7 separate regions of the Homo sapiens genome follow, and all the other regions are linked to region 1. The links are contacts of gene promoters, found by promoter capture Hi-C in blood cells and fetal thymus (Javierre and others, 2016). All regions are on one chromosome and are shown on one strand. The core of a region is centred on a gene start or on the middle of the fragment in contact, and the rest is flanking DNA. Distances in the headings are between cores, read along the strand shown.

Evidence for each region. Contacts are between HindIII fragments. The CHiCAGO score rates a contact against its expected background, and 5 or more counts as called.
Region 2: a fragment that was not itself captured here is called in contact with the fragment with the promoter of UBL3 in region 1 in 1 of 17 cell types (neutrophils); the score reaches 5.0 in neutrophils.
Region 3: the fragment with the promoter of ALOX5AP here is called in contact with the fragment with the promoter of UBL3 in region 1 in 3 of 17 cell types (total CD8 T cells, naive B cells and fetal thymus); the score reaches 8.1 in total CD8 T cells.
Region 4: a contact is called between a fragment that was not itself captured here and the fragment with the promoter of UBL3 in region 1, in 1 of 17 cell types (total B cells). The highest score is 5.1, in total B cells.
Region 5: a fragment that was not itself captured here is called in contact with the fragment with the promoter of UBL3 in region 1 in 3 of 17 cell types (naive B cells, naive CD8 T cells and total B cells); the score reaches 5.4 in naive B cells.
Region 6: a fragment that was not itself captured here is called in contact with the fragment with the promoter of UBL3 in region 1 in 1 of 17 cell types (naive CD4 T cells); the score reaches 5.0 in naive CD4 T cells.
Region 7: a fragment that was not itself captured here is called in contact with the fragment with the promoter of UBL3 in region 1 in 3 of 17 cell types (naive CD4 T cells, fetal thymus and naive CD8 T cells); the score reaches 6.7 in naive CD4 T cells.

The regions. Positions count from the first base shown.
Region 1 is chr13:29,848,299-29,852,440 of GRCh38, reverse strand. It overlaps UBL3 (ubiquitin like 3), which reads left to right and starts at 1,824. Exons shown (of 5, transcript NM_007106.4): 1 at 1,824-2,929. The coding sequence starts at 2,903. RefSeq lists silencers at 1,669-1,778, 2,049-2,348 and enhancers at 1,909-1,978, 2,649-2,718, 3,189-3,258. The HindIII fragment of the contact is 5,102 bases long and covers 1-4,142 here.
Region 2 is chr13:30,779,820-30,783,961 of GRCh38, reverse strand. No RefSeq gene overlaps it. Among named protein-coding and RNA genes, the nearest start is that of LINC00398, 21 kb to the left of the region's middle. The HindIII fragment of the contact is 5,080 bases long and covers 1-4,142 here.
Region 3 is chr13:30,733,536-30,737,541 of GRCh38, reverse strand. It overlaps ALOX5AP (arachidonate 5-lipoxygenase activating protein), which reads right to left and starts at 1,999. Exons shown (of 5, transcript NM_001629.4): 1 at 1,867-1,999. The coding sequence starts at 1,936. All of the region lies in intron 2 of LOC124903146 (a long non-coding RNA gene), which reads left to right. The HindIII fragment of the contact is 8,013 bases long and covers 278-4,006 here.
Region 4 is chr13:30,679,864-30,684,005 of GRCh38, reverse strand. No RefSeq gene overlaps it. Among named protein-coding and RNA genes, the nearest start is that of TRN-GTT2-4, 7.9 kb to the right of the region's middle. The HindIII fragment of the contact is 9,070 bases long and covers 1-4,142 here.
Region 5 is chr13:30,655,561-30,659,702 of GRCh38, reverse strand. USPL1 (ubiquitin specific peptidase like 1) reads right to left here. Exons shown (of 9, transcript NM_005800.5): 9 at 1-2,229. The coding sequence ends at 347. Among named protein-coding and RNA genes, the nearest start is that of TRN-GTT2-4, 16 kb to the left of the region's middle. RefSeq lists an enhancer at 1-401. The HindIII fragment of the contact is 693 bases long and covers 1,815-2,507 here.
Region 6 is chr13:30,635,265-30,639,406 of GRCh38, reverse strand. It overlaps USPL1 (ubiquitin specific peptidase like 1), which reads right to left. Exons shown (of 9, transcript NM_005800.5): 5 at 1,550-1,663. Among named protein-coding and RNA genes, the nearest start is that of USPL1, 19 kb to the right of the region's middle. The HindIII fragment of the contact is 2,782 bases long and covers 971-3,752 here.
Region 7 is chr13:30,573,036-30,577,177 of GRCh38, reverse strand. It overlaps a transcript of HMGB1 not described here. Among named protein-coding and RNA genes, the nearest start is that of USPL1, 43 kb to the left of the region's middle. The HindIII fragment of the contact is 3,186 bases long and covers 470-3,655 here.

The sequences.
Region 1 (4,142 bases), core at 575-3,074:
GGGAGGTCATTGGATAAAAGTTGGAGTCAAGGGTATGGTGGAGGGACTAACTCTGTGAGTTAGAGCTTTCAAAATGTGCTCCAATATTCCTTCTGAGCTCATTGGTCAATTGAAGTATTTTCACCTGCCCTTATTTCCTGGGGGGCTGGTGTAGGGGTAGGGGGACTCTGTGGTTGCTAAACATTGCAAATGAGCAACCAAGTAACAAAGGCCATGGAAAATCACGTAACTATGGACTTGGAAATATCTAGACAAAGTCCTGAAGCCTAATCACAGTGAGATTTGGGCCTCTCTTCTCTTCTGGCCTTTGGTTTTTCGGAGAATTTGATCTATCTTCCTCAGGGTGATATAGGCCCTTAGGAGTGTTTGGAATTTCTCCACCCAGGCTACTCAAGAGGCAGGTACTCTAAATGTCCTGTGGGTTTCCAACTGATGAGAAACCCAACTGGAGAGATTGCTGTGGGGAATCACGTAGGCTTCTAGACAATGAGCTCCCTGAGGACAGTGACTGGATTCTGCCTCTTTTCAACAGCCCTATAGACAAGGATGTAATAACCCCCATTGCCAACCCAAGACCTTGGCATTTCTGCCACATGATGCTGCTGTTCGCTACAGTGACTCATTTTTAAACTCCTAGTGCCTAGCAGAGTGCCTGGCACATTTGTTTGCTGAATGAGAGAATGAGTAGTGACATTTCATATCAAATGATGCATTATTATTTACAAAGTGATTTATTTCCCATGCATGAACTCATCCTCATAACTACCCCTACTTTACCCCGGAAGGTAGGCAAGACCATTTTACAGATGAGGTCACACAGCTGTAGGTTGGAGAGGTGGCTTTCAGACTCTAAATTCATTGGCATTTATATATAGGCATCATATTGAGACTGCCCTTTCTAAAGTACTCTGTCAAAGGACTAAGAGATATGAATAGGGATTCAGATGTTGACCTCAGATTTAGGAACAAAATGCAGAAATCACAAATGTCCATCTGAATGGTGTCTCAACAATGGCATTATTTTCTCCTATTTGCTAATCACTGCAAGGCATATAGGTTTTCAATTACATTATGAGTTACATAGAATAGAATTTAGGGTCCAGATGGGTAAACTGGTGAATCCCCATGAAGTTTGTAGTAGCTATTTCCTGATACAGATTTGATATAATAACACTGTTGTATGTAATACAGTTTTGGTAATTTCAGTTAAGTAGATTGTAGCTTTATTGCCCTGGGTCTTCAAGGAAACACATGTTCAAATATTCTCACTGCTTAATGAGATCCTTGTTCCTGTTGAACTTATGTGACCTTATTGGAAATCAATGATTGCTTTTGTTCTTCAAAATGTAATGTTGAGGAGACCTAGATGAAATCACTCTACAAAATGCATTGAGATTGCAGGATGTGGAGAATGTGCTGTAATTAAAATGAATGATTCTGCTTGGAGGTACAGCATATTTTAGCTCTGTGTGCATATCGTGCATAAGGGAATTTCTCTATGCAGAATTATTTTCTCCCAACAATTCTCATGATCACAGCACTCCTGGTAGCAGGTATCACTTAACTCCTGGGCAGCAGCTTGTCCAAAGCAAGGGAAAGGGAGCTTTCCTTTCCTCGCAACTGTTGCTATGGGGGGCGTGGCTTCGGAGCTGGGTGAGGAGGCGTTCGGCGGCTCCCTCCCCCCCCCACCCTCGTAGACTACACTTCCCGTGATGCTCGAGGGAATGGTCTCCGTGGTGACGCACTTGGTGTCCGCGGAGGGAGGACGAGGACGGGGGCGGCGGCTGCTGCGAGGGGGGGCCCGTGCTCTCCCCGTTTCCCTTAGTCGCACTCAGGCAGCCGCCGCCGCCGCCGCTGCCGCCATGTTGGTTTGAGAGGCGATGACAGGAGGCGGCCGCGGCGTGTGGGACTGAAAAGTGAAGGAGGAGGAGGAGAAACAAAGCTCTGAGAGGAAACCATTCCCGGGCTGAGGAGAAGGAGGACCCGGCCTCTTCCGGGGACCAGCCGAAGTCGGCGTCGCCCGGAGCTCGCGAGGCCGGGGAGGGGAGGGGAAGGGAAGGCGGAGACCGGGGAGGCGGCGGCGGGGAAGGCGGAGGCAGAAGAGGAGTGGCGAGGAGCCGGAGACGATGCGCCCCGACCCCAGCTGCTGTCCGGAGGCGCCCGCGGCCTGAGCCCAGAGGGGCTGTGGAGTGTCCCGGCCGGCCCCGAGCACCCCCGCGCTGTCGGTCCCCCGCTCCGGTCTTTCGCTTTGGCTTCCAACTAGTTAAATGCCCTTGAGCGCGGGTTTCCGCGGCCCGGCTCTTCGCCCCCGCGGCGCGAGTTGAGCCGTTTCCCCGCGCTGTCCGCGCGGGCGCTCCGACAGCGGCTCTGCAGGGTCCGCGGCCAGCGTCCGGCCACCGCTCGGCCGCCACTCAAGGCTCACGCGTCGATGTGTAGCTACATAGTTATCTGTGTACATCCACGCTGGGGCATTTTTCTCCTGCTTAATGAGGACTTGACTCGGGAGCAAGTGTGAATCATTGCCGGGGCTGGGAAAGGAGGAAGGCGCATTTAACCCCCTCCCACCCCTCTCCATGTCCGTGTGTCACTCGGCTCGGTCCACCTGGCGCGGCCGGTCCTGGGGCTGCTGCTGCTGTTGACGACGACGACGACGACGGGGGCTGCCTCTGCTGTCCCGGGAGTTTCCTCCTGCTCCGGCCACACAGCTCCTGGGGATTGTTCCTCTTCGAACCAGAACCTCGGCCTGACCGGCACTTTGGCTCCAAAATAACTTTATTTTTGGGGGAGAAAGCACATCACGAACCAGTCAAAATCGTGGTTTATTTCTGTAACGTGAAGACTTCTGCTCTTTTTTCTTTGTTTGTTTTTTTCGTAAACATCTGGGTGTATATCAAACGGCAAGATGTCCAGTAATGTCCCGGCGGATATGGTAAGTGACGGATAAGTTATGACACTGATTTAATTGTGGTTTCCAATCTTATTTAATCGGAAAGACGGCAGGCGTGGGGCGAAGATTTGCTGGGGACTGTCGAAAAGCCACTGTGCTGAGCGATTTGGAGAAGTTGGAGCTTCTGGTTTCCCCCTTTTAGGAAGTACTGCTTTTAATATGGGTTCTCTCATTTGGTCGTGTTTTCTAAAGCATTGAAGATAGTGGAGAAGTAGGGAAATGTATCATGGTAGCTTGAGGGGACAAAACATCTCCCTCTTCGCTAGAAGCCTCCGAACACTAGTATTTTAACGTTTCTGAAAACGTCAGGGACAGTGGGCAGAGCTGAGGACGGGTGTCCCTACGAGAGAATAGGTAGGGAAACGGGAATCTTGCTTTATGACACAGACGAGATCGTCATTGCAGTAGGGACGAACTTGATATTTTTCAAGAACAGGGATGCACATCTCTTCAAGAAAAAGTATGTTAGAATTTGCTGTGAGGTTTTTGAAATGTCTGAATACGGATGGCAACAGAAATATAAAGATATTTTGGGATTTTCAGAAACGTAGGCTGACCCTGTATTGGTACTTACAATGAATATTCCAGGGCTTTTTAATGCCAGATATTTATTAATAGTAGATTCCATATTAGACATAAAGCTAAGGAAACATAGTATTGAGCCTCGATCACTGAGTGTTGAGAACTTGAAACAAAAAGTACTGTTGTTTATTGACGCCTTTCTTTGTTTTGTTTATAAAGGGTAAGGTTGTGAGTCGGTTGACTAACAGTAACCGTGTAACCTTACAGTGCTGGGGCTGGGCTTGTGTGAGTGTGAAGTTACATTTTGCAGTCCTAAGGACAAACATAATGCATTTAATTACCAGGAAGAGGAATAATCCTGTTTATGAAAGAATTGAAGTTAACGTAGTTGTGCTCACATATGTTAACATTTGAGTGTTTGTGTATTCAGTGGAAACAAATTGAACTTTGCTGATGATTAAATTTTATTTTATTTTTTAATTTTAATTTAATTTTAATTTAATTTTTATTTTTTGAGACGGAGTTTTGCTCTTGTTGCCCAGGCTGGAGTGCAATGGCGCGATCTCGGCTCACTGCAACCTCTGCCTCCTGGGTTCAAGCGATTCTCCTGCCTCAGCCTCCCAAGTAACTGGGATTACAGGTGCCCACCACCACACCTGGCTAATTTTTTTTT
Region 2 (4,142 bases), core at 939-3,438, 930 kb before region 1:
AAGCTGGTTTCTGGGAGGTCCATGTGAGGCATTTGGTTGTTTATGTTGGTTTGTTTTATACCATTTGTTGAGTTCTGTTCATACATTCAGTGTCAGGAGGAAATAGGCCCAACTGTGACTTGATACGAATTCAGAGATAGCCAAAGACAGAGGATGGAGGCCAGTGAAGCCTTCTGTATACACCCACTGTCCATTTACCACACACTAGACAGACGTTTTGTGAGTCTGTGCCCTGCAAGGCACCATCCTAGGCTCATTTGTCTGTTAAGAGGTGGTCAGTGCTATGGAGAAACAGAAGCAAGGTAGGGGATTGTGGAGTGCAGAGGGGAGGAGGAGGAGGATGATGTGTTACAGGAGGAGGGTGGCAAGTAGAGCTGGCCTGAGAAGTTCCATGTGGGTGTCCAGAAGTAAGGTGTTTCTGGCATAAGGGACAGCAAGTGTGGAAGCACTGGGGCTTCCTGATGTGTGCAGAGGATGAGCAGGGAGTGGGCCTGAGACAGAGGAGCAGTGGGGAGGGATAAGGTGAGAGAAGAGAGAGGTCTTACAGGCACTGTAAGGATTTTACTCTGAGTCAATGACAAGCCACAGATTGACTTACATGTGTAGAGCCTTGCTCTACACCAGCACAGAGACAGTGTGAGCAGGAGCATGGAAAGTAGAAGATCAGCCATGGTGGTGTTTCTGCCCCTTAGTGGACATTTGTCAATGTCTGGGGACATTTTGGTTGTTGCACCTCAGGAGTGGAGGATGCTATTGGCATGTAGTGAGCAGAGCCCAGGGATGCTGCTGAACATCTTAGAATGCACAGGACAGCCCACCACAATGAAGAATTATCTGGCCCCAAATGTCAAATGTGCTGAGGCCAAGAAACCCCGAGCTAGGGGATTACTGCAATAATCTAGGTGAGAGGTTACTTATTAAATAGCAACTGAGCACCTACTATGTGCTGAGAGCTGAGAACATAGCAATGAGCAAAACAGACAAAGCCCTCTGCCCTCATGGAGCTTTATGCTGCAGTGATGGTGGAAGTTTAGAATGGCATTGGGCAGTGGGGGTGGTGAGAATGGTCAGATCTTAAAAATAATTTTTCGAAGGTAAAACTGACAGGATTTGCTAAGAATGGAATGTGCAGTATGAGAGAAGAGGAGTCAATGTTGATGCCAGGGTTTCATCCTGAGCAATTAGAACAGAGTTACCACTTACTGAGATGGGCCCACTAAGGGAGAAAGTGATTGTGTGGATGGAGAATCAGAGGTTTTGTTTTGGACACATTAAGTAGGGATGAGGGCAATGTGATATTTTAGTCTGGAGGTTAAGAAAGGGATCTCCTTTGGAGAAGACAAATTTTAGAAATTATTAAATGTGAGGAAGATCACTCAGGTATCTGGAGATGTGCAAGAGACTTGTGCAGCAAGCCTGAGCTCTCCATAATTAGGAGGTTGGAGAGTGTCTTAGTCTATTTTGTGTTGCTATAACAGAATACCTGAAGCTGGGTATTCTATTTATAAATTTATTTCTTAAAAAAGAGATTTATTAGACCTAAAACAATAAAAACCCTAGAAGAAAACCTAGGCATTACCATTCAGGACATAGGCATGGGCAAGGACTTCATGTCTAAAACACCAAAAGCAGGGGCAACAAAAGCCAAAATTGACAAATGGGATCTAATTAAACTAAGGAGCTTCTGCACAGCAAAAGAAACTACCATCAGAGTGAAAAGGCAACCTACAAAATGGGAGAAAATTTTCTCAACCTACTCATCTGACAAAGGGCTAATATCCGGAATCTACAATGAACTCAAACAAATTTACAAGAAAAAAACAAACAACCCCATCAAAAAGTGGGCGAAGGACATGAACAGACACTTCTCAAAAGAAGACACTTATGCAGCCAAAAAACACAGGAAAAAATGCTCACCATCACTGGCCATCAGAGAAATGCAAATCAAAACCACAATGAGATACCATCTCACACCAGTTAGAATGACAATAATTAAAAAGTCAGGAAAGAACAGGTGCTGGAGAGGATGTGGAGAAACAGGAACACTTTTACACTGTTGGTGGGACTGTAAACTAGTTCAACCATTGTGGAAGACAGTGTGGCGATTCCTCAGGGATCTAGAACTAGAAATACCATTTGACCCAGCCATCCCATTACTGGGTATATACCCAAAGGACTATAAATCATGCTGCTATAAAGACACATGTACACGTATGTTTACTGCGGCACTATTCACAATAGCAAAGACTTGGAACCAATCCAAATGTCCAACAATGATAGACTGGATTAAGAAAATGTGGCACATATACACTATGGAATACTATGCAGCCATAAAAAATGATGAGTTCATGTCCTTTGTAGGGACATGGATGAAATTGGAAATCATCATTCTCAGTAAACTATCACAGGGACAAAAAACCAAACACTGCATGTTCTCACTCATAGGTGGGAAATGAACAATGAGAACACATGGACACAGGAAGGGGAACATCACACTCTGGGGACTGTTGTGGGATGGGGGGAAGGGGGAGGGATAGCATTAGGAGATATACCTAACGCTAAATGATGAGTTAATGGGTGCAGCACACCAGCATGGCACATGTATACATATGTAATTAACCTGCACATTGTGCACATGTACCCTAAAACTTAAAGTATAATTAAAAAAAAAAGAACTTAAAATGAAAAAAAAAAAAAAGAGAGATTTATATAGCTCATGGTTCTACAGGCTGGGAAGTTCAAGGAGCATGGTGCTAACATCTGCTCCTCATGAAACAGTGGAAGGTCAAAGGAAAGGGGCAAAACTTAGAGGTGTCCTCACTTTGTAACAACCCACCCTCAAAGGGAAACAATCTATTCCCAAGAGAACTAATCCAAGAGTGGGAATTCAATCACTACCTTGAGAACAGTACTAAGCCATTCATGAGGGATCCACCTCCCATGACCCAAACACCTCCCACCAGACCCCAACTCCCAACACAGCCACAGTGGAGATCAAATTTCAATATGAGATCTGGTGGGGATAAACAAACCATATCCAAACCATATTATTCCACCTCTGGCCCCACAAAACTTATGCCCTCCTCATTGTAAAATACAATTATCCCTTCCCAATAGTCTCCAAAAGTCTTAACTTGTTCCGGCATCAACTAGAATGTCTAAAGTCCAAAGTCTCATCTGAGACTCAAGGCAAGCTCCTTCCAACTCTGAGCCTGTAAAATCAAAAACAAGTTTTTTACTTCCAAGATAAACATTCCCATTCCAAAGGGGAAAAAATCAGACAAACTAAAAGAATGACAAGTCCCACACAAGTTCAAAGCCCAGTAGACCGAACATTAAATCTTAAAGCTCCAGGTGCTGCCTCCTAGGCACACTGGTGAAAGGGGTAGGCTCCCAAGACCTTGAGCAGCCCCATCCCCATGGTTTTGCTGGGCAGAGCCCATGTGGGTGCTCCAGGGCTTGAAATCAGACACCTGTAGCTTTCCCAGGCAGGCACTACATGCTGCTAGTAGCTCTACAATTCTGGGGTCTTGAGGGCAGCCCTGCCTTTATAGCTCCACCAACCTTGGTAGGCACTCCCTGTAGTGGCTCTGCCCCTGTGTCAATTTTCTGTCTGGGCTCCCAGGCTTTCTGATACATCCTCTAATATCTAGGAGGAAGCTGCCACGTCTCCACTGCTCTTTCATTCTGTATGTCTGTAGAATTAGTGCCGCATGGAAGCTGCTAAGGCTCAGGGCTTGCTCTCTACAGAGCAGTGGCATGAGTCAAACCTGGGGCCACATGAACCAAGGCTGGAGCATCCAGAATGTGGGGACCAGTGTCCCCAGGCAGCACAGAGACACAGCATCCTGGGCTTGTTCCCCTAAACCAACCTGTCATCTTAGACTTAGACCTCTGGGTCTGTGATGGAAGAGGCGACCTTAAAGATCTTTGAAATGCGTTGGGGACCTTTTTCCCATTGCTTTTTCCCATTGTTCTTTTAGCACCTGGCTTCCGTTTATCCACGCTAATCTCTCTAGCAAGGGGTTTCTCTGCCTCACCTCACCTTTGGGCTCTTTCATTCTCTACCAGAATTTTGGCCAGGCTGTGAATTTTCCAATTTTTTCTGCTCTGTTTCCCTTTTTCTAGTAATTCACTGTAAG
Region 3 (4,006 bases), core at 750-3,249, 880 kb before region 1:
AAAAGTCTAGATCTCCATATTGTGGCTGTCAGGACTCAGACATTTGGCCATCTTTAATCTTACCTCTACCTCCCACTTGTCCCACAGAAGAAGACTTAATCCTATCTGTCAAAAAGAATTCGAAATCTCACCACTCACCTCAATCTGAACAGGGTTTGCTAGACCATGATGGCAAAGTCCAGGAGAAAGCCCTGGGCAGAGCAGGGCCAGTTCCCTGGTGCACCTCCATTAGGAGAGGTGAGGAGAACCTGTCCTTGAAACAGAGAGCTCTGAAGCTTCCCACAGTTCAGCTCTGAATTGAGAGGGAGCTGGAGAGAGTGAGCTCAAACTTCGTAGCTGGGTTCAGCCCCAACTGCACAGGCAGGGAGGGGGCACAAGGTCCCCTGTCCACCGATGCTCCTCAGTTTTATTGATGGGTGTCAGGGGAGAGGCCAGAGGGGAGATCCTTCCAGAGCTGAATAAGTGCTAGCCACCTGCCCACCCATACAGCTACCTTTGCAGAGACTGCAGGCATTGCTGCAGGCTGACCTGTCCATCACTGTAGCTGTTTTGTTTCCTGCTCTATCCGCCTGTACCCAGAATACTATCTGGGCCAGAGCAGGGTCTCTGTACATGTATGCGGGTTGAATAATGGAATCCTTGCCAATTTACAGGGCCAAGGGAGCCCTGTGTGAAATCATAATGGCTCAAGAAAATGGTGGCCTAAATAAGCCATTTGTTCCCTCTCTGAGCTACAACTTTGTTGTGTGTAATTTAGTATAAAAATGTTTGGGTCAGAAAGCCACAAAGTGTAGTTCTTGTAGAAAACATACTTGGAGTGTGTGAAGCTGAGCCTTTCTGGTGCAGAGGCTGAGGGGGAGGCTTGCTCTGTGCCCAGAAGGCTACATCACCAGCATCTGTCCACACTCAAGATGGGGGAAAATAGAATATCCCAAAGTGATTAAATACTCAAAGTTCCAAAAACGTGACAGCATGTCAATGTTCAGTAATCACCATAAAGCTACAGCAGCTGCCCTTAGTAATTACTCTTTTTTTCTCTATCTTAATAAATATAAAACACAAAGCCACTGGAGATAGTTATGAAAGTGGTCTGAGGCAGCCCTAACTCAGAACTTTAGGAAGACAGCTCTACACAATTCTCCCTTTTCCAGATCTAGGTATCCTGCTTGTTTTTTGTTGTTGTTGTTGTTTTTAACTAATAGCAGGAATAATGGAAATGCAAACGCTGAACAGGACAATTTTCCTCTCTCTCTCTCTCTTTCTGAAGTATACACTGCATATGAAAAATGCTTCCAAAATTATACGTGCTAGAGAAAAAGAAGGTATCACCAAAAAAAAAAGTTTCTTCAGGAGAAAAAAAGAAAAAAGTAATATAGAGGAAAAATAATAAGATGATTTTTTCTACGCACCTCCCAAAATCACTTTCTTTTTAGACTGCAGATGACTGGTAACTTCAATTGCACTGCAGATGTTAGAAAAGCCCAGTATCTGAGTAAATGTGTATATCATGTTCCCTTTCTAGTCTTCTCACCTTCCACCCCTTGCCTGGCCACATTAATTAATAGTTAAAATGCTGATCATAGACACTTCGGTGAGGGTTTTAGCAAAACCTTCAAGTTGCAGCCCTGGCTCTAAAAATGGGACTGGTAATCACCACAAAAGTGAAAGACTAAGAGGAGGAAAACCCCAAATTTACACAGAAATACACACAACCCTATACATTCAAATAAAAAGAAGAAAATAAAGATAAGGTAAAAGTGTTTGTGCATGCGCACACACAGACACAATTGTTTAAGCCTGACTTCCAAACAACCATCAAAGAAAATCTCCCCTTCTGTTCTTCCCTGAGTGAAGGGCTTTCCTTACCATTCTGGACCACGCTGATGAGGGTGACGATGGCCAACAGGACAACATTGCCTACAGTTTCTTGATCCATGTTTGCTTCAGGCTCCCCAGAGAGGACTGCTCTGCCTCCAGCTGCACAACCTGCCCTGTACAGGAAGGGGAAGTGAGAGCTTGCACTCTTTCATCATTACAATTTCTGAAGATCCCCGGCACAATTACACAGTGCCTTCTTCTTCCTTTTTTTTTTTTTTTTTTTTTTTTTAACTAACCACCAAAATGCCCTGGCTGTGGTTCAGTGTGTCCCACCAGGAGAAGCAGGGCTTGGCAGAGGAGCACGCAAAGCCAGCACACTCTCCTACATTTCCTTGTCATGGGAAACTTCCCTGAGAGTCTCCAGAATGAATCCTGGACCCAAGACCATGACCAGCACGAGCCCAGCACAGGCACCAGAGAATCTGGAAGCTGCCATCATCTCTGACTTCAGCAAAGAGAAAGAAGGGAAAGTAAACCCAAAACTTTCAGGTCAGACAGAGTGGCATAAACCTGTAACCCCAGCATTTTGGGTGGCTGAGGTGGGAAGATTGCTTGGGCCCAGGACTTTGAGGCTACAGTGAGCCAATGATTATGCCACTGCACTCCAGCCTGGGCAACAGAGCAAGACTGTCTCACACACACACACACACGCACACACAAATGTAAAATGAAACTTTAAAAAAATGTATAGAACACCAAAAGATCTGTGCCCCAAATACTGTCCTTCTTTTTTTGAATTCCAAGAAAAAAAGTGAACACTTAACACACGGTAAGTAGCAGCCACATAAGGTTTGAATGAAGGAAGGAATAAATGGCAGTGGGGAGGGACAGCTGATATCTCCATTTCTTCAGAGAAAAGTAATAAAGGGAATTCATAAATTAAACCAAAGAATTCAAACCAAACCAAAGAATTCAGGTAAAAGGCAGAAATGGAGTTACAGATGATCCCTAAGGGAAATTCCCAAAGGGAACTGACTTTTCTGAGGCAATCGCAGAAACACCTTCCTGGAAATTCTTTTCAACTGAATAAGAGTAGAGTGGCTGTGCTTTCTGAGAAAGTATAAGAGTGGACCTGCTGGGTGGGTGAGGTGGCTGCCTGGTATTCTGCAGCTCAGATCAGTGTGAATGGCAATCCCTCTGAGGTTACATGGAAAATGCAAAATACCTGCAATCTTTGTCCCAGACTTAGCTATTTGGCATTGGTTAAGAGGTGCTTTTATCAAAACTTCACTTTGAAAGGGAACATGGACCACTGTAACTAGTGGCAGCAGGGAGGGCTGCATCTCGGCACGGAAGAGGTCAGTGTAGGGGAAGATATTGCTCCCTCATAGGTACAGTGCCAGAGGCCCGCTTCAATGCCCTCGGTTCAGCTGAGAGAGAAAGGCTGATGAAGGCAGCGTGCAGAGTTGTGTGCGGGGAAGCCAGCAGCCAGGGCTGTCGGGCTGGTCATGACACACTTGGGTACTCCCTGAGTACCTAGGGCACTTTGTAGAGTATAGACTTTATATTAGCCAAGGCTCTCCAGAGAAACTGAACCAATATATAAATAAGTCTCCTCATATATATATATTGCAGATTTATAATAGAAATTGGTTCACATGCTCATGGACACCATGAAGTTTCATGGTTTGCCATCTGCAAGCTGGAGACTCAGAAAAGCTGCTGGTGGAGACCAGTCTGCATTCAAAGGCCTGAGCATCAAGGAGGGCAATGGTGCAAGACCCAGTCTGAATCCAAAAGCTGGAGAACAAGGGGCTCCAGTGTCCAAGGGCAGGAGAAGATGGAGGGCAATGGTGCAAGACCCAGTCTGAATCCAAAAGCTGGAGAACAAGGGGCTCCAGTGTCCAAGGGCAGGAGAAGATGGATGGCCCAGCTCAAGAAGAAGAGGGAATTTGCCCTTCTGCCCGCTTTTTGTTCTATTCAGGCCCTCAGTGGATTGATGACACCCACCATATTGGTGAGGGTGGGAATTCTTTACTTAGTCCGCTGATTCCAGTGCTGATCTCTTTCAGAAACACCCTCCCTAACACACCCAGAAAAAAACATTTTACCAGCTACCTGGGCATTTTTTAGCTCAATCAATTTGACATAAAATTAACTACCACAGAGTTATTACAAGATTGGTTAG
Region 4 (4,142 bases), core at 1,214-3,713, 830 kb before region 1:
AGGCACACACCAACACGCCTGGCTAATTTTTGTATTTTTAGTAGAGACGGGGTTGCATTATGTTAGCCAGGCTGGTCTCAAACTCCTGGCCTCAAGTGATCTGCCCACCTTGGCCTCCCAAAGTACTGGGATTACAGGCGTGAGCCACCGTGCCCAGCTTCATCCAATCTTTTTCTTGTCTCCAGGACCGCTCATCTTCATCCCCCCTTTGCCTCACTCAAATTAAACCCTAAATCCTCTGTGGTTTCTGTCAAATCTTGCATTACTTAACCATTACCTCTGTTTTATAATTTAATTATAGAGGCCCCAACCAAGAGAGACAAACATTCTGAGAACTTGTGATTTCCCCAAATGAGAAGAGCCTTAGAGCAGATGACATTTCCCATAAAATGAAAACCCACACTAGAACAAGCAGCCCACTAAGATGTCCATGGCCAGCGTCAGGCTGGCTTGGCTCACCAGCCTAAGGAACTTGCTCCTGTTAACAGTAAGCAATGCTCAGGACAAACCATGGCCCCTCATGGACTCTTGCCAAGAGTTGAAACCTTGAAGGTTAAATCCTATCATATTACAATCCACTAGGAGCAGTAGGTTCTGTCCCAGTTGTTCCTGACCCGGGCTGGGGCTGTCCTTCTAGGGCAGTGGCTCTCCTATTTTTGGTCACAGGACTCCTTGACAACTCTTAAAAAGAAGTACTGAGGACCCCAAGAGCTTTTACTAATGTGGGGCACACTGATCAATACTTACTGTATTAGAAATTAAAACTGAGACCGGGCGTGGTGGTTCACGCCTGTAATCCCAGCACTTTGGGAGGCCGAGGTGGGCAGATCACGAGGTCAGGAGATCGAGACCATCCTGGCTAACATGGTGAAACACCGTCTCTACTAAAAATACAAAAAATTAGCCGGGCGCGGTGGCGGGTGCCTGTAGTCCCAGCTACTCGGGAGGCTGAGGCAGGAGAATGGCGCGAACCAGGGAGGCGGAGCTTGCAGTGAGCTGAGATCGCACCACTGCACTCCAACCTGGGCGACAGAGCGAGACTCCGTCTCAAAAAAAAAAAAAAAAAAAAAGAGATTAAAACTGAGAACTTTAAAAAATATGTCTGTGTATGTATATTTCATTTTTTAATTATAATAATAAACCTATGACTGATAAACTCAAAAACATTTCTAGGAAAAATAACTTTATTTTCTAAAACAAAAATATTGTGAGGAGGATAGCATTGTTTTTTCATTTTTGCAAATCTCTTTCACGTCTGGTTTGATTGAAAAAACTAGGTTCTCATGTTTGCTTCTGCATTCAGTTAGGTTCATTATCACACACTCTGTCACCTGGAAAATGCCACTGTTCACGTGTGAGAAAGTGAGAGTGAAAAAAGACAGATAACATATTAGTATTATTATGACATTAATTTTAACCTTGAAGATCCCCTCAAAGGTCTCAGGGACAATCAGGGGTCCCTGGACCATGTTTTCAGAACAGCTACTTTAAAGAAAGTTTGGAAACATAAGGGCCCTTTCTGATTGTCCCATTTACGAGCAGGCAGAGGTGCCCAGGTGTCAGAATGACCTATTCAGCCCTAGATGGTTCTACACAGGAAAGAACTGCCCAGCCCCAAACAACAGGGTGCCCAGAGAGGAGGCTAGATTAGTTCCTGCGGTAGGTGATCTGGACTTTTGCATATTTGCCCAGCATAACTTTGTAAGAGCTTAATAAACTTTTTTACATTTGTTAAATGAAAATGGTGGAACCAAATTGCAGACGAGATGGCTCACCTAATAATGAATCCAAATCAGATAGCTTTCATCGTGCAGCATTTTAACTACCACAGATTGTGTAACAGAAATTATTGCATGTCCCAGGCAATGCCTAAGGAACTGCTGTTTGTAACACAAACAGTCTGGCAGCAGTTAATCACATGGCTTTCCTCATTTTCTGTTTTAAACTTCTGCTGGACCTATGACCAGTTATCTGTGTGAGATGGTAAGCCTTCGTGTTACTCACTACCCCATAGGAAGGAGCAGATCTGATGGGGTTTCCTGATTAGGGTACCAAAGGAACAGGCAGCACTCTGTATACCTTAGTGGACAATGTCTGAGATAAGCTGTGATAGGCTAGCATCCCTGCAATTTGGTTTTTAAAACCCTATAGTAAATCATAAATCTGACTCGGTGTGGAATCCGTGGAATTAACAGGGATGTCGGGATCTGATTCTAGCCTGGAAGCTCCTGCTTTCTGAGGGCCACACTGGAGGTGCCCTCAGAATTCAGAAGGGTAGATCCTCCCACCCAGCCTCCCTCACCAGCTCCCTGGAGGTAACCAGTAGCTTTTCTCCTGGCTGCCTTTTGATAGTGTTTGTCATCAATCAACTTTATTAGTTGTTTGCTTTTTTTGCATCCTGATTCACCTCCTCAAAACCTCGCCATTATCAAGTCTCTTTGTTGTTCAAAATGTTCAGTGCATCCTGTCGGCACATTGTATAAATATGCCATAGTTGTTTGTACATCATCCTTTGATGACTATCTAGGCCATGTAAAATTTTCTGCAATTATGAGCACCGTTCCTAATGCAGTTTCCAGCCTGGTATTCAAGAGCCTCCATGCTCTGTCACCTATTAGGTTTCTTTACATCAGGCTCCACCCTTTGTAATCCTCTGCTTCAGCTGTGCTCCTGTGTCTGTGCCCACCCATCCACACCTCTGTTCCTTCTCCTTGACAACACTAAAGGATCCTCTCACTTGTGGTCCCTGCTACTGGGGATGCTGAGGCAGGAGGATCTCTTGAGCCCAGGAGTTTGAAGCTGCAGTGAGCTATGATGGCACCACTGTACTCCAGCCTGGGTAAAAAAGCAAGACCCTGACTCTAAAAAAATAAAAATAAAAAAAAAAAAGGATCCTCTCCAGTGTCAGCTCAAGACCTGCTTACTCCATGGCTCTGTACTTACCAGTCCTGTGTGAGAGCGGCCCTCTCACTACACCCTGACTGCGTGTTAGTATTACCTTTCTTTCTCCTTTGCCATTTGGGGAAAGAAATTTTTTATTTCATTTAATTTTGATTTTTGTTGCTAGTGACACTAATGATTGTTCCTGACTCAAATTTGTAAAACGTTTACCATTGGTGCCATGCAGTGGCACTTACAGCCTTGAAACGTTTTTGTGTATATCCTGTTTCTGCAAGTGGATTAATAAAGTAGGCCGAGTGGGGTGGCTCAGGCCTGTAATCCCAGCATTTTGGGAGGCTGAGGTGGAAGGATCGCTTGAGGTCAGGAGTTTGAGACTAGCCTGGCCAACATGGCGAATCCCTGACTCCACTAAATATACAAAAATTAACGGGGTGTGGTGGCCTGCACCTGTAACCCCAGCTAGTCAGGAGGCTGAGGCAGGAGAATCGCTTGAGCCCGGGAGGTGGAGGTTGCAGTGAGCTGAGATTGTGCCACTGCACTCCAACCTGGGCGACAGAGTGAGACTCTGTCTCAAAAAATAAAATTAAATAAAATAAGTAAGTAAAAATTTTAAAATTAAAAATAATACAGTGACCTGCAGTCAGGAATGGCCTCTCGGAGAGTCTTAAATGGAAGGGAGATCCCTGAAGCATCTAGCCCAATTCAGTCAATATCTGCTGGCTGTCATTTAACACAAAATGTATTAAGTATTTGAAAGTATATTTTTTAAAATTTAAAAAGTCTTAATATTCTCCTGTAGATTGAGTTATCCCACCCAAATGAAAACAACTCATAAAAACGAAGAAAAAAAATCAGTGCAAAGAAATTTTTAAAAATATTTTAAAAGGGTAGAAGTTATCTCTAATCTCAGGTACTCCAATTCTTTTTAAATGAAAGCATCTTCATCACTGATGATTCACATCTTGTAAAATTCCCCACAGAAGTGTGCATGGTCCATAGACACCCTTTTCTCAGGTGAGTGAAAGAGTTGAGAAGAGAGACCAGCGTGACAGTTCCACTGTGTTTGGCAAAGCCCCCCGCCGGTGTCCCTACCCACACACAGGCACTCCTCTACCCCTAGACAGAGATCTGGCCAAGCATAACCACCTACCTCCCTCTATCTGTAATTTAGGGAAACTGCTGCTGCCTCTCAACCCTGGCCCCGCAAAAGACTGCTTGCAGCAAATGCTTGAGAACATACT
Region 5 (4,142 bases), core at 912-3,411, 810 kb before region 1:
GATCACTCATAACACTAACATAACCAAAACTTCAAATCTAAAAATGTAATGCATCCAACTGTACAAACTGTCAGAAACTAGACGCCACTTTTCATCTTTAACATTTTGAAATCCTCATACTCTCACAAGAACAAAATGAAACCAAAAAGGAGAACACATTCAGTGATTTTAATGTGTAAGAAAGATTACATGCTTCATGGGCAGAACCAAAGGTTAAACCTTGCATTTTGTTCATGGTTATTACACAAGTAATTACACAAGTCCAGTGTATAAACACTACCTGAACACATTGTAAGTTCTTCTAATAATAATAAATATTATATGAAAAAAGTTAACAAGCATTAATTCAATAATTCTCAAACAGATATTCATCGAAATGAGGTAGGTCTAATGTGTCATTTGCTAAAGCATTTAATGCTGAGGAGGAAAAAAACTCATCGAAAATATCAGTCTTCATCGGACTCTCCAAGTTTAATGTTCTAACGCAGGCATTATTTGTCAGAGAGTCTGGCTGAACTTCACATGGATTTTTCTTGGTGGGGCTACAATAATTATGGTCCTGTCTCAGATGTGTGTTCTGGGAAACATCATTGAATTCACTTGGTACTGGTGGTGGGATATGACTATCTCCCATTCCCAAATACCTAAAGTCACCTTCCCCATTTTCTGACAGCTCTGTTGAAACAGGTGTAGGAGACAATAATTCCGCTAAAATTTCTTCATGAGTTTGACTACTGTACAGGGAAACACCAGGAACAGTGGTGCATGCAGACTCACTGGCAATATCAATTGGATATGGTAGCTCATTTAACAAGTCCTCTATTGATTCACAATCATTTGGAGACCCATCCTGGGGCACCTGTTCTAGATTTTCACTTCGAACTGTTCTGCTTTGCGGGGAAGACATAAGAGCAGCTAATTTCTTCTTTTCTGCCTTTAGCTTTTTACGAAGTTTTAGACGAAGTTTATGAATCTGACCTTCCACCAAGTCTTCATGGTTTGCTGAAGAAATACCATTCCCATAAGAACTGTGGTTGAGTTGAGCTCCACATGAGGTGCTTCCAGACTTTTCCAAAACTTCTGAAGCAGCATGAGCATGTGGGTGGGCAGCTGTGCCATTAGACGATGGAGGGCCTGCTGGTGGCTTACTGATGGGAGGAGGCTTACTTGCACTCTTACGAGCTTTCTTGGATACGTGGCTGGCCTTCTGGTTTATACCTTTAGTTTTAAAGCCACCAAAATTATTTACCCCTTTAACTGAAGGTTGTAAATCAGTTATAGTGTTTCTATTATGAGCTGAAACACAGAGTGGCATAAAAGAAGCACCCCTGCTTATTAAGCCTTTAACCCAACTTCCCACAAATGGCTTCTTCTGATTTTCTTTCAGAGACTGATTCTGTAATGACTTAGATGTTGTGGTTTGAGAATCTGCTGTAGTTTCTTTTTTCTTCAAATTAGATACCTGAGATGTGACACGTTCTGGTTTTAATTGTTCAGTTTTTGGTGTAAGGAATTGTTTTAACTGAGCGTCCTTCTCAATTTCTACTGACTTCACTCCCTGTATAAGACCAGTAGCATCAGTATTATTCACAGATTTAGTATTTACAGTATCTTCTGTATTCAGCTGTACTGACTGCATGTTTGTATTTACAACTTGGGATGGAAAACTTATGTCCACAAATTGGTCTTGAATAAGCTTTTCATTACATGGAGCTGATACTGAAGAAGCCATTAGTGATTCTTGTGATAGCAAAGTATTGGTTTTGAGAATTCCTGTATTTTCTGCTACAGGTTTATTTTCTAACAGGAAAGCTTCAGAATTTAACTGTGAAACTGAGGCTGTTTTCTGGATAGTTTCTTCAAGTGTCAGAGGTAAAATATTGTCAACCAAACCTTTTGGACCTGAAAGTAAATGATCTCCATGAGTTACAGCTGTGTCCTGTGAAAGAGTACGAGGGGCAACTGATATATCTTTAGGGTGAGTTACTGAGGCTGTTTCAGCTGAGGCAGCATCACCCACAGAACACGATGTTAAAGATACTGGTTTCTCATTACTGAGAGCGTGTTGGTCATTAGTCTTTTTAAGTGGAAGGCAGGCAGCTTCTTTATCTGTCACTTGGGATATTTTTCTTTCCCAAATAACAATATGTATCTCTGAAGCAGGAACTTCAAATTTCTTGTGCCTTTCAGAACATGGGCCTTTTAAGTCATCACATTCCAGCCAACTTCCTGGAAGATGGGAAAGAAGTGAAAGTTAGATATTCAAAAACCACCATCCTAGGTTAACTTTCTTCTGGCCTTTTCAACTGTTGTATCATTGAATACCGACCAAAGGAGAAGACTCTAAAACATGTTCTTGACCTTGTCACCATTGTCTGCCATGTTAAAGTCCTTAGATAGAGTATATTTAATTTTTGGAACTTAGAATTTGGTTATCACCTAATTTATCCAATAACATCAGAAAACAGAATGTTTCATACATATATGTTTTCATGATAAATGAAGCTTGTTACCTGAAGGATCACTATTCGTTTTAATTCTTGTTTTATTTCTGAGCTTCCATTTTCACATTTGTCAAGAGAGAATGAGATGATAGATGACAAGGGAAGAGTTTAAAAACTAGCAGTAGGATGCACTACCAAATACTGAAATATTAATACAAAACTTGGGAAAAGTCCATTACTTAAAGCAGTGTGTCGCTGGCAGTTATTTTTGCCTGAACAATTTCAATGGTGCCAATAGGGAGAGGGGTCCTTATGTAGTCAACTAAAGCATGAATGAGGAGTAAGAAGGTAACCTGTTTAAACCATTCCTTTAAAAAAAAAAAAAGACACCCATTAGGATGGATATTATTAAAAAAAAATAGAAAATAGCAAATGTTGGCAAGGATGTAGAGAAATTGGAATCCTTGTGTAACGCTGGTGGGGATGTAAAATAGTACAACTGCTGTGGAAACAGTCTGGCAGTTCGTCCAAAAATTAAACACAGAATTACCGTTAAGACCCAGCAATTCCTCTTGTAGGTTTATGCCAAAAAGAATGAAAAGCAGGGACTTTCAGTTCCTTGTCCACCAATGTTCACAACAGCATTATTCACAATAGTCAAATGTCCGTAACAGATAAATGGATAATACATACAATGCTACTCAGCCTTAGAAAGGAATGACATTCTGCTACATCCCACAACACAAATGAATCTTGAAAATATGCTGAGTAAAATAAGCCAGACACAAAAGGACAAATAATGTACGATTCCACTTCTATGAGGTATCTAGAATAGACAGATTCACAGAGACAGAAAGTAGAATAGTGGTTACCAGGGCTTTGGGGTGGAAGGATGCGGAGTTATTGTTTAATGAGTAGTTTCTGTTTGGGTTGATGAAAAAGTCCTGATGGTGATGGTGGTTGCACACAATGTATTCAATGCCAATGAATTGTACACTTACAAATGTTAAAATGGTAAATTTTATGTTATTTATATTTTACCACTACAACAAAAAAATACAAAAAGTACGGCTGAGAAGTAAAGGAAGGTGGCTAGGTGCTAACAGGTGGTGTGGGGTTAAGGGAGGGTATATTTCTTTACATTTTACTTACTACCACATGATAATTTGGGAAAAGCTAACCACGGGCTTGGATGAGTAACAACCTTTCTTAATAAATAATCAACAAATATCTGTACTTTCATTAGAAACTTATCAAAACAATCCATACTTCCACTGTATATATCAATATCTACACATCTATGAAACAGAAATAGATACAAGTGTAATGTCATGGTAATTGCGGCACAGCAAATACGTAGCTTACTCTATTTCTATGAAACCAAATGTGATAAATTAATAAATCACGATGTCAAACACCATCGCACTTACTACAAAACATTTCCTATTCCTTGGATTACAACAGTGCACACCCAAAGCACTATATTTTTTTCTAAGGAGTATATTATTTTAGAAAACATTGTTTTAGCAGTAGAGAAGTAATGACCAACACAGTGGTCATCATTTTATGTTGCAAAACATGTTAGAGACACTTACTTAAATATTGAAAGTGCGCTCAGTTTCTCTTTTCCTTATACAAGTACATCTATCCTTTTTTGAAAAAAAGATTTCTCAGAGCACACACAGAAAACTCATTTGA
Region 6 (4,142 bases), core at 1,112-3,611, 790 kb before region 1:
ACTATTATATATTAATTTTAATAAAATGTAGGAAAAAAAGTGAAAATTAGGGGGCAGAAGCATGAGTCAAAGAAGTACGTCAAAAGCTGTCCAGCATGTACAAAAGATGCCATGCTTCCCGATATATATATATACACACGCACATACACACACATACACACATATATATATATATATATATATACATTTTTTGAGACGGAGTCTCGCTCTGTCCCCAGGCTGGAATGCAATGGCGTGATCTCAGCTCACTGCAACCTCTGTCTCCCAAGTTCAAGCGATTCTCCTGCCTCAGCCTCCCGAGTAGCTGGAACTACAGGCACACACTACCACGCCCGGCTAATTTTTGTATTTTTAGTAGAGACAGGGTTTCACCATGTTGGCCAGGATGGTCTCAATCTCTTGACCTTGTGATACGCCTGCCTTGGCCTCCCAAAGTGCTGGGATTACAAGCATGAGCCACCAAGCCCAGCCTTATAAAATATATTCTAAGTATATAAATATGTTATAAATATATTGTAAATATATTATAAAATATCATATTTTATAATGATCTGGAAGCATGGTGTCTTTTGTACATGCTAGACAAATCAGTAGCAACAACTGATTTTATTATAAAATATAAATATCATTTTTTAATATAAGTTAAATGTCACTCATTGAGAGAAAAACTAGAAGGCACTGATATTTTACATAATATGGGTTATTACTAATAGGGAGTATCATATTCTGCTACTATAACATTAATAGAAGAGTTAATACAAGGATACAAGAAAAATAAAACAAAAAGCCCTTTCAAAACAAAAACAAACAAAAAAACCCCGCAGCTCCTTTTCGCAATACTAAAAAAATTTAGAAAGGTTTGGACAGACTCTCTAGCTCACTTGCTGCACGCCACTCCCACAGGCCAAAAACCAAGTCACAGAGAACAAAGAGGTCCCATCCTTGTGCCCTTTCTAAAGGCGAGGAAGCTTTCCCAAAAGGCCATCAGCATATTTCTCTTAATATCCACTGGCCAAAACTCTACCACAAGGACATTCCTAAACCAATCACTGGTAGGGAAGTAGAATTACTATGGTTGGTTTAGATGAGATTCTAAACCCTGGGTACATATAACAATCATGTGGGGTTTCTAAAAATTACTGATTTCCTGAGCCCCATCCCTGAGATCCTAATTCAAATGCCCCAGCATTGGCATTTACTTTTAAATTCCCTCGGTGCTTTTTAATGCACAATTGAGGTTAAAAATGCTAGATCTGTCTACTAGGAAACGTACTAGAGAAGCAACTAATGATATGCCCCCTAAAATTCTCCTGGTTCTGAGAACTGCACCCACTCTCAAGAGGTGGAACACCAGCCTACATATTTATATGGAACAGCTCTGCCCTACAATAACTTACCCAGTGGTAGATTCCTAAGTCAAACTACTCAGATTCTCTCTCCCAAGAATATGATCATCCAAGGTAATCAAACAGTATTATATTTCCTTATGAGGTACATATTTCTATATGGTAGATGAGTATAATACAAGTAAGTTTTACCAATTACTTACCTAATGTGCATCTAAGCTGGGGCTGAAGGCTAATAAAAATTTCATCTCTAACTTCATTCAGACAGGTCTCTATCTCTGCAAATATTTCTGAGGTAAGTTTTTTACAATCTCCATCTAAGAAAATACAGAGAACATTATCAATTCCTCATCAATGTATATCTTCCCACAGAAAACTGACACATTCCCAAGAATGAAAGCTGAGTCAGTAAGTTTTGCAAACAGACAAAAAGCAAAACACAAAATTTCCTTAATTCTTTCTCTGTGGTATACCATATATTCCCTTAATATATGCTATCAGCACAATATCATTAGTACTTACTGAATGGGTAAAATCTCAGTGAAAGCCTTTCTCACCCAAATAATCACAGGTCTAGTAAAATAACTAACCTTTCAGATACTATGTCTATCTCTAAAACAGCTAAAGTTACCTCCTTATGTGCAATTACTTATACTACAAATGATGTCTAACCATTTATTCCACTCTGTGTAACTTTTATTGAACTTAGCCAGGTCATAGGAACAGATAAATTTATAAGGAGTCTTAATAAAGTTACAATTATTTCCCAAACTAATATCTCATATTTCCCTTCTATGTCATTTTTGAGGGGTTTGAAGGGGTCTTCAGTGGCAACATAGTGTTTATCCGGTTCCACATCCTGCTTTGTCTACACAAATGTGCTTCATTAAAAACTGACCAGCCTGGGCAACATAGTGAAACCCCTATCTCTTAGAAAAAAAGCTGGGTATGGTGGTACCCACCCGTAGTCCCAGCTACTCAGGAGGCTGAGGTGGGAGGATCATTTGAGCCCAGGAGGGTTAGGGTTCTACAAGCTGCAGTGAGCTGTGATTGTACTACTGCACTCCAGCCTGGGCAAGTGAGATGCTCTCTCAAAAAACAAAAACAAAAACAAAACAACAACAACAAAAAATCTGGCTAGTTATTATACAGTGACTGAAACATAGCACTTGTGTGTGTGTTTGTGTGTTTGGAGACAGGGTCTTGCTATGTTGCCTGGGCTGGTCATTAACTCCTGGGCTCAAGCCATCTTGCAGCCTCAACCTCCTGAGTAGCTGGGCTTACAGGCGCATGCCACTATATTCAGCTGAAACATCGCTTTATTAATCATTCTCCTATTGCCAGACATTTTAGTTGTTTCTTTTTTCACTATTATAAATACTATTGTGATAAATACCTTTGGGCACACATATCTATGTTTTTGATCACTTCTTTATGGTAATATTTATTATCTTCAAAATGGAATTACTGTGACAAGAAACTATCCAAGATTAATAAGAAAATTATTTTGAATAAAAGACTCTACATGCATCTGACTCTACTTACTCTTAAGCTACAAATAGATCTTTTCACTCACATCTCTTATAAATAATTCATACAGCCTGATCACACTCTGCTTATATGTTTCCCTAATGAAATATCTGGATTCTCCTGTAATATGAAATAAGCATTAACCAGAATTTTTGTTATTTGACCATGCCAAAAAAAAAAACTTACATTGCAAAGTAATGCAGCTCAAACATATAATTAACCAGATTATAAAAACTACAATTATTCTGTAAAAAATTAGTAACAGATTAAAAACATAAAATTAAAGTTAATTCCAATATTGAACTGCTGCTCTTCTGCAGCAAACAACTGAACTGTCACCTACTTAACACTGGGGTTTCTGTAATTAGAGAAAGCAGAAATAGAAGAAAAGTCAAAGGCAAAATGCTTGTGAGAAACTGAATTTTAAAAATTGCAAAAAACTGTAAATGACTGACACACACAAAAAAGTTCAGTCTCAAAGAAAACCTACACTGAAACAAAATATTTCTTACCTAACAAAACCATAACGTCTTGAATGTTCTAACCAAAGGTGGTTAGAAAACACTGAGGTATTTTTTCTACATAATGAAAATGGAATTATATATTGGTACAACCATTCTGAAAACTGTATTCAGCAAGACCTTTAATATTCATATTCTAATATCTTTCCTAGGAAACTAGTCAGTAATTAATTCAAAAGATATATGGATATTTGTCCTGGTGTTAATTCACAACAGCAAAAACTAGTAACAGCCTGAATGGTTAACAAGAGGGAAACGATGTATAAGATCCATATAAAAGACTGTATGACCAAACTCAAAATTTTTAGCACATTAATGAATAAGAAAATATCTACAATGTCAAGCAAAGAAAGCTTGGTATGATGTCACATCTGTCCCCAAAATATATATGGCCAAGTAAGATCAGAAAAAATATGCATCAAGACACTTCAAAAGAAGTTGAATAAAAGTGAGGATTCTTGCCCTACAAGGTAGCCATAATAATTTAAAAAGTATGAGTGCTGGGTTAGACAAAGTAACCAAGAGAATAAAATTGAGAGTTAAGGAACAGCTGCACACATACATGATATGTTGATACATGCTAGAGGTGGCATGGCAGATCAAGTGAGAAAATAAAGTGGAGCTACAAAAACTGGCTATGCAAATGGGAAAAAAATGGATCCTTACCTCATACCACACATCAATATGAATTCCAACTGAATGAGAAATTTCAATGTCAAAAGCAAAACTTTATAACTTTTCAGTT
Region 7 (4,142 bases), core at 813-3,312, 720 kb before region 1:
AGAGATGGAGTCTCACTCTGTTGCCCAGGCTGGTCTCAGACTCCTCTCCTTGAGTGATCTTCCCACCTCAGCCTCCCAAAATACTGGGATTACAGGTGTGAGCCCCTGTGCCCAGCTCTAGTCTCTTCTTATAAGGACACTGATCCTATCAGATCAGGGCTCCACCTTTGACCTCACTGAACCTTAATTACTCCTTAGAGGTCACGTCTCTAAATACAGTCACATCAGGGATTAGGACATATGAATTTGGGGGAACACAAATATTCAGTCCATGACAGCGACAATTCTGGAGAGTATTTGAAGATAAAATCAGCACAAGTTGGTAATCGATTTGATGTGGGGAGTGAGGTGGAAGGAGGAGTTTAGGATGACTCTCAGGTTCTCACAAAGATGCAGAGGAGGGGCAAGCCTGTGGGGTGAATGAACAGCAGTTCGGTTGAGGTTACTGTAGTTCAGCACTTGGAAAGCTTCCAGGAGATAGTTGCGATGCTGATGTGGAGAGAGGCAGCGACGTGTGTGGATGGCAGTGGAAGCCACAGGCTGGGTCACATCACCTAGGGAAAACATGTAGAGTGAGAAGACATGTAGGACTGCCAAGATGGAAAAATATTTACGAGGCAAGCAGAAGAAAGCAAAGGGAGACTTAAGAAATAACATACCTTTATCCCTGAACCCAAAGGAAGAGAGAATTCCAGGCAACAGGGAGTGTTTGACACATTCTGCGGCCTCTTTGTATCAAATTTGTATTCTTAGGTGAGAAAAGGGAACAGGCTTAGAATCATAGCTTTTTATTGCCCAGTAGGACCAAAAGAGATGATTTTATAATTCTTTATTCTACAAACAAGGAAGCTGAAGCCCTGCAAAGCCTTGGGATTTGTCTCTTTCATGGTACAGGCAGGAGTAGAATTTAGGTCTCCCAAGCCATTTGACTTCAATCCAGCGCTTTTTACAATACATCAAATAAAATCCACCATTGTGGGGTTTGAAAATTGGGTCTATGTTATAAAAAAAATTACACTAAATGGAGAAAGAAGCATTCAAATTTTATTTGTATATGCATTTGGGGAGAGGAAGACATAGTATAGTATAGAAAATGTCAAAGACTTTGTCTCAGAGGAGAGAATACCAATGTTGGCCTTGATGGTGATGATGAGATTGACTAGTGGAAGAGGGCCTAGAGACAGGGATTCTGTCCTTACCATATTCACAGTGGAAATGGCATGTTACCAGCGGCTCCTGTTATGTCCTGAGCACACTTAAAACGAATTTTTTTTAGAGACAGGGTCTCACTCTGTTGCCCAGGCTGAGTGCAGTGGCTTACTGCAGCCTCAAACTCGTGAGCTCAAGGGATCTTCCTGCCTCAGCCCCTGGAATAGCTGGACTACAGGCAGGTGTCACCATGCACCTAAGCACACATTTTTAAATGTGACTCTGTCTTATGTTTTTTTCCTATCATTGACTAACCCCACATTAGATACATAGCAGTACTGTATTATTAGAAAATTAATTTTAAGTCAGTACCTTATTACAGGCTTGAAACTGACAAACTTCATTACTTGGGGAGAGGAGTGGGTTCTTTTACAGGATTTCAAAATTGCCTTCAGCCACGGAGACTCCCTTAAGTGAAAATTTCTGTCAGTAACAGACAGTTTATCTTAGAATTCAGTTAATGGAGTATGTATTGAGTATCTACTATAAATGAACCACGATGTTGAGCACTTCAGGAGGTATTAATGAATTGAACAGAGTCCCTATGTAAGACATGTATGGCCTGTTGCTAGAGTGAAGGAACAGCGTCATATGAACCTTTAGACTCACAAATATTTTAATGGGGTCAGCGTAGTCAATAGGGCCAGTACATCCTCATCAGTACTTACTGAAAATATGAGCTGACTTCGAGCTGTATTTCTCACTTTCAAATTTTAAAAAACACAAACTGAAGCAAGTTTAACCACCATCATGGTTTGTATGTTAATTGCTTTCTTGTTTTTACTAACTACATAAGCATGAACTTAATATAAAAGGCTACTATTTTTTCATTTTATAACTTTATGGCATGAAAATGTATACGCTGACACTTAAAATAATAAACATATGCACACCATGCAGATACTTTTACTCGGAGTTTATATTTTTGGTAGATTTTAATATATCAATTAAGATAAAATTATACAGAATAACTGATTCCCCAACAGACACATCTTTAGTACGAGGCCATTAATAGAATTTTTATGTAGTATATGCATATTACAAAGAGTACATTGTATGGAAAATAAACCAAGCTAGATTCCTGGATTCCTAGCATGGTTTATTTAATGCAAGTATTAAATTAAAAAGTCTGGTTAGCATGCAGTTAGCATCATAAAAAGAATTTCCACATATGACTATAGTAGTATACATTTCTGCAGTAAGGACAGCCCTCTACAAAATTATGAAGTATGTAGGTATCTTGGCACAACCCATAACATTTTTTATTCCAAATATGAGAATTCTTACCACTGAAGGCATTTCATGAAAAGTTGGATCCATAATTCTCCACTAGTCAAGACTTTCAGTAGAATGAGCACCTTATTACATTCATCTTTATTTTCCTATTTCCTAGCAGGGTCATGGAAATTAGCATATTCTCAATGAAAGTTGATAAATGAATGCATTCTGCTAAAAGTAAACATTGAGAAGAAATTTTTACCGTCGATTATGTTGCCATAGTGCTATTATCACAAGAGAATTCATTTAGCAACCATTTATTGAACATCATCTATGGTAGACAGTGTGTTAGCACTAGGAATACAGAACTTAATAAGATGAGCCTTCCAGCAGTGGGATTGGGCAACAGTGGATGCAAGAGGCAAAAGAACTTCAAACAGTTGTGATAAAGAGGAAAGATAGTAATGCTATCAGAGAAATATCTACAAACAAAATAGTGTTATGCTATTAGAAAAATACAGAGTGCTGTGGGAGCCCAGAAGAGAAATTAATTCCAGTTGGACGTAGGAGTGTTTGTCAGGATTTCATATGGGAAGTGGCTTTTGAGTTAAACTTTGAATATCTCACTGGCATCTTGGGCATCTCAAATCCACTGGGTCTATACTTGTGTTCATCATTTATTCATCATTTTCCCCTTCCACCCATTCATCCCCAGCTTGCATGTCTGATAGTCTTGAACATGATTATTGATATTGCCGTTCACTGCTGGGTCCTTCCTTTTAGAAAATGCTAGATTAGGCCGGGTGCGGTGGCTCACGCCTGTAATCCCAGCACTTTGGGAGGCTGAGTTGGGTAGATCACTTGAGACCAGGAGTTCCAGATCAGCCACGGCAACCTGGTGAAACCTCGTCTCTGCAAAAAATACCAAAAAAATTAGCTGGACGTGTTGGCGCATGCCTGTAGTCCCTGCTACTTGGGAGGCCGAGGTGGGAGGATCACCTAAGCCCATAAAGTTGAGGCTGCAGTGAGCCATGATCGTGCCATTGCACTCCCACCTGGGTGGCACAGTGAGACCCTTTCTCCAAAAAAAAAAAAAAAAAGAAAATGCTAGATTCATTTGACTCCTTTTCTTTCCTCTCCAGTATTTATTTGGTCACTTTAGTTATGTGAAGTTTTGAATAATTTCCAATTTTTTACAAATTATATGGTTTGTATGTAATGAAAAGCTTATCAAAAATGTTTCAGTTTATCAGTCTACTAATCAAATATTTTTAAACTTTTAAAATTATACACAGAAATGTGGTCCTATTTTGAAACAATTCTCTCATTTTTTTCACATTAAAAAGTTCAATTCTGATTTCTAAAAATCAGAAAATCATAAAGAATTTATTATGGAGAAGCTATCCTGGTGTACAATTATGACAGTATTTTTATTTTAAATGATACTGTCCTTCTAAGAATGTGTTTCTGTCAATTTGTCCTTATCTCTACAGAACCCTGAAATTGTAGCACTACTGTAGTGTTTCTAGAGAGTAATACGTTTCTGCTGCCATTTGGAGGAGCCTGCATCACAGAGTAATGAGTTGAGTCTGACTTACAAAGATGCCTCCTTTGCAATTCAGACCCCCCAGAAGAATTTGCAGTCAAATTCCTATAATTAATGAGTTGTGTCTTCTAGATTCCTTTAAGTACTACATCTAATGGAAGTTACAATT